2 separate regions of the Homo sapiens genome follow, and region 2 is linked to region 1. Evidence: promoter capture Hi-C in 16 types of primary human blood cells and fetal thymus (Javierre and others, 2016). All regions are on one chromosome and are shown on one strand. The core of a region is centred on a gene start or on the middle of the fragment in contact, and the rest is flanking DNA. Distances in the headings are between cores, read along the strand shown.

Evidence for each region. The method cuts DNA at HindIII sites, captures the fragments that hold promoters and counts their contacts. A CHiCAGO score of 5 or more calls a contact.
Region 2: a fragment that was not itself captured here is called in contact with the fragment with the promoter of ARMCX1 in region 1 in 1 of 17 cell types (monocytes); the score reaches 5.8 in monocytes.

What each region holds. Positions count from the first base shown.
Region 1 is chrX:101,549,137-101,551,861 of GRCh38, reverse strand. ARMCX1 (armadillo repeat containing X-linked 1) reads right to left here and starts at 1,315. Exons shown (of 4, transcript NM_016608.2): 1 at 1,202-1,315; 2 at 838-891; 3 at 229-293. The HindIII fragment of the contact is 13,633 bases long and covers 1-2,725 here.
Region 2 is chrX:101,934,647-101,937,371 of GRCh38, reverse strand. No RefSeq gene overlaps it. Among named protein-coding and RNA genes, the nearest start is that of ZMAT1, 4.0 kb to the right of the region's middle. The HindIII fragment of the contact is 2,051 bases long and covers 346-2,396 here.

The sequences.
Region 1 (2,725 bases), core at 66-2,565:
TAATTTGGAGTAACGTCCTCCCAACCCCTGGACTCTCTTGACGCCCACCCCTTCTCAGCTATTTTCTTCCCTGTCTTGTACTTGCAGAACAATTTCTTTTGCAAGCTCCGAAATGGTGTAGATAAGAGGGAAGGAGGGGGATATGGAAGGGGTCCACGGGCCCATTCGAGTTGCAGTCGCCACCATGCTCCACCCCCAAATAATGCCATCACCCTTATTATGACCTACTTGGTTCTTGACAACTTTGCGTTTCTTCCTGCTCCAAGGGTTGGACTGGCCTCCGGCCCCAAGATCTGCAGACACAGGCAACAAGGCAGAAACTGAAGGCTCAGCGGACAGAAAAGCACTTCGGGGAGTCCCAATATCCACTTCTCCTAATTCAGGGTCCTGGCTGTCAATGGATTTTACCTTTTTGTTTCTCACCCTACCCTCACTTCTCTGGACTCCGCTGACACCAGCCCTGTCGCTTGGTAGTGTTCCCCTACCCCCGTCCCCGCCCCCGGCCCTCACTCCCTCCCGCAGCCCCAGCGGTCGGCCATTTTCCCAGCAAAACCACACCCCTTTCAAACCACTGGAAGCGGGGCGGGGCGAGGGGGGATATGGAAAATCCGAGGAGAAAAACAAAACCAACCGATCTCTTCTATTCCTCTCCCCAACGCACCCTACCCGCAATCACAAGCACTTTTCCTGCAGCCACTGTTACATCCTCTTTTACTGAAGAAAAAAAAAATGGCAGGAAGATTGCTTGAGAGTCGGTAAAGGGCCCAAGTTAAGGCAAGGACCTCAGTCATCCCAGTCCTTCTGGGCGCCGCGGGACAGCTCCAGCTTTACACTGACCTGCAGGGATTCCAGGCAGACTATTCCTTTGTTCCCAAATGGCACAGCGTCCTACTGAAAGAAAAGGGGTATGACTGTCAGACGCACAGCCCCAAGATTCTGGCTTGGTAGATGGGCCAGCACACAGGACATGAATCCGAATATCCGCCCTCCCTGATTCAAGGCCCTGGATGTTAAAGGTCCCACGACGCCCGAGTCTGGGGTCGCCCCTGGAATCCGGCCCCAAGGTCTACCATTTTTGTTCTAGAAAGGGCAAGGGATACTGCAAGGGTTTGGAGAAAGTGAACTGTGCTCCCCCTTCGGCCTCCACGGTTCACTGCCCGCGCCGCAGGGATCCCCTGGCAACGCCCATCCACACACAAACCTGCTGGGATCCAGGCAGAACCTCGTCCTCCTTCCCCCAGGCCACAGGCCCTCTCGCCCTCTGGGCTATAGGAAGAGTGCAACCGGACCAAACGAAGACTAGGATTAGAAGGACGTCTGCACGCGTCGGCTCCAGCTCACGTGAGGGCCACGTCAACCATGAGATCAGGACCCCAATTACCACTCCCATCAGCAGCGCCGCAGAAGCCGGCCCTCCCCTTCCTTCCCTGACACATCAGGTCCTGTCACTCATTTTCCTCTTTGCCAACCCCGGAGACTAGAAGTAGCTTCTCTTTGTGGTGAATTTGCCTTTCTTTGGTTTACAGGGAGAGGCTGTATCTGCTCCCGTGTCCGTTGGCCTTTTCTTCCTCTTCGAGGAATAATTTTTTATCTTCTCTAGTCCCAGTCCAACTGTCTCTCTCTATACCTCCCCCCATCACAAGTCATGAATGTCCTATTTCTTCTGCACCCCTGTAAAATGTGGAGCAAGATGTTAGAAAAGGAGATAGATCGTGGGAGTGTCTTATTTAAACTTTTCTGCTCATTTGTTTTTAAATCAGTAACGCATTACTTTTATATTGAGAAAATAAAATGATGCTATTTTCCTTTGAGTGGAGAGTTTAAACGGGAGAGAAAACCCAAAAGGCCTCATTAATTTCGTTATTTTATTTGTAACAGTAGGAAAATATTTCTACTGGTTACAGCCAATTAGTAGCTTTTAAAACAAAATAACTCATTTTAAAATTGAAAAGTGGGCTGAGGTGGGTGGATTGCTGGAGCCCAGGAGTTTAAGGCTGCAGTGAGCTATGATGTCACCACTGCACTCCAGCCTGGGTGACAGAGAGCAAGCCTCTATCTCTTAAAAAAAATGGATTTTTTTTACATGATCTATGAATTACTCCACAAAGAGACGACCAGTTGTCTAATCTTGGCCATTTTACACAAATAATTCCTTACTTTTTCTATTTTTGAATCAACTTGCAATTTGATAAGTTAAAGCAACACAACCCTGTCTTATTAAATTAAAGAAAAGCATGTATTTAACGTCCCAAAGTCTTGACCGACTGTTATATGAACCTCTTGTGATTTGATGGCTACTCTGATCACCTGCCTCTGAATTGAATTCCAGTCTACCAAGGCTGAGGCACCTGAGGGTGTGAGGGATGCAGCGATGTTCTAATCCTTCCTGCCCTGTCAAGAGCGGAAGAAGGTGCTGCCCTCCCACCCTTCCACATTCCATAGCCTCTCATCCCCTGTATTCAGGCACCCATCTATTGTTCACTCCAAAAATATATATAGATGAGTGACCAAGGTGGTAAATGCCACGTTTACTCAGGTGACCAATCAGAGTAAATACCTTTGGCTCCTTCCCTTCCTTCCCCAAATTCCCACAGAGGTAACAGCAATGCATCGAAGGGCTTTCTGTTCCTACCTACCCCTCTGCCCTTATTCATGGTGCCTGAGTGAGCATTGCTCCTAATACTGTGTGCTGCCACCACCTGACCTGAGAGGTGCAGCCCGCTGG
Region 2 (2,725 bases), core at 122-2,621, 390 kb before region 1:
AGCTAGGTTTAGGATCAGTCTTAAATTTTAAAAATCTAATATACACTATTACATGTCAAATTACTTTTATTTATCTTCATTGTCACTTGAATGCGGGGAACAGTTTTTATCCAAAAGAACAACTCTAGACACCACCTGGAAGGAAAGTTGATGCCTTTTAAAGCAAGACCTGCATGGCGATATAAAGAGGATGAATAACATAAAATATAAAAATCAGAGATCAGAAAGGCACATGAAACAAAGGAAAATGGAGTGATGAAATCGTTCACCGACTCCATACTCCACAGAATGATTAAGTGACCAATGTCTAACTACATTCTTCCTTTAACCAATTATAAAGAAGCTTAGGTTAAAGGAAGACACTTCCCTATGGTTAAAGTCAAACAGTGAGAATGTTCTGGAACTTTCTAGATGTTTACATAGAAAGGAAACATTAAGAGTGATTCTGGCATAGATCTGGATACGAAATCACATGCTAGGATATTTCCTTCAGACCCTCTCTAGGCTGACAACATGTGCGTGTGTCTGTGATGAGGGTAGGGAGCAGAGAACAAGAATGAGAATATATGAAAGTGTACACTATGAGACAAATACATTAGGCATACACAGATCTATTTTTATAAAAGTTCTGTATAACTTCTTTTTCATTTAAATATATGTATGTATATACATTTGACAACATTTCATATCAATAAAGATAAATTTCTATAACTTCCATTCCCTACCAGGTACATCCTGTACTATTGTAATTTTATCTATCACTATTAATCCTGAAACAATGGGGAAATATATGCATTAATTAGCATATAGTTTCATCTTAAGCCTGACTTACCACAGGCTATCTACTCATAGTATTTTCATATATACTTTCCAGATATATTTTATGTGTGTTTATATATAATTCCAAGGCTATATGTTCATATGTGCAAATACATTTTTGTTCAAAATTGAGTCACATTATACATACTGCTATTGTCTGAATGTTCCCCAAAATTCATATGTTGAAACTTAATTGTCAATGTAATAGTGTTAAGTGGTAGTGCCTTTGGGAGGTGATTATTTGTATATCTCAATGTATCTTTTTATTTGTCTTTAATTTTAGTATTGTTAAACAACTTTGGATGTTTGCCATTGCTTCTCACTTTTGAATCATTTGTTAATAAAATTAAACATTACTATTATACCTAGTCAGATTCATGCCTATGTCAGTCATATTACTTATATGCTATTAAATTCTGTTTGGATTATTTCTCCCATTTTCTGATGCCTTTAAATGTATTGTGTTTGTTGATAATGGCTTTTCAATTTCCCCATATTATTCCAAATGAGGTATTTTATATTTCACTGCAAATATAGTGAAATGACCACTGGTATGCTTTTTGTTTTTTGCTGATTTCTCACATATGCAAAAATATTCTCTCATTTCTTTTTAGCACCTCTACCCCTACCTTACACGCAACTTCCCTCCCCTAATCCCACCCTTGTTTCCTTTCTATGATTTGGGGGATTGGTAGTTGAAATTCATTTCAATTAATACAGTCTCCTCCCTGTGGGTCAATGATATAAACAGACCATTTTAATCAATAAGTAAAGAACCATGGAGAAGTTATTTACACTCATGAGACTGAGTTTTGCGTTTTTAAATGGAATTAATGAGCCCAATATAACATCACTTTTGTGAGAAGACTGGGAAATTCTAGGAAACATCTGGCCCATAGCAGGCTTTCCTTAATTGCTACTCTGTGCTATATTCCACCTCCTCTTTCCTGTGAGATAAATTACATTGGCATTCACTTAATAACATTACTGTCATTGAGAGCAATGATAAGTATAAGAGGAGGGAAAGGGAAGTGTGTGCTTATTGTCACAGTGCATGACTGAGGTTTGGTGGCATTTTCATGTTATGGCATGTCACCAAATGCAGCTGAAGGATGGGGAGAAAATTAACTAATAATTTTATTTTATTTTGTGCATTATCCTACCACTTCTTTTTACTGTTAAAGTGGCAGAGACAGAATTTTCCGTGGATCCTAAGAAGGACAAAGTAATTCCATAATTTAATATATATTTGTTGACTGATATAGTTGTTACTGTCAGACAGAGGTCAGGGAACTGCAGAAAACCACTGCTAATCTCACAGATCCTCCAAAGCCTTTGAGTACAAGACTTACAGAAGAATGCTAGGGTCTGAAAAAAAATTTGTTTTATATCTGCCAGATTCCACATAAAGAACAGTTTTTATTTCCTTTCTATTTAAAAAATATCATACAAATACATAGCATTGGTGATACCTAAACCATATTCAGAATCCTGCTGGCAAGAAGTTTAGGAAATGTAATTCACAGGATTCCAGCTTCTGCAACAAAGGAGAGAACATAGACGAGGATGAAAAAGCTTCCAACTGCCAGATGACCTTATCTGCGTAAGTCTCCTGGATTTTACTTCTTTAACCTTTCTGATTCTTTTAAGTACCTGATATTCTACATTAAATATTTTCTGTTTGAAATACCTAGTGTAGTTTCTTTTTTGCTGACTGAATCTTGAGTGATGCCCACTCCTCCAGAGATTCTGAATGAATATTTCTTACCTAAGTGGATTGTGATTCATATTTCAAAAAACAATGTTTTTGAGAGATCCCTCCATATCAGAAGGAATAAAATCACACCCCATTTGTATGCTTGCCTTGTCCTACTAGCTACTTGAGCAGATTATTTCTTGTGTCTGG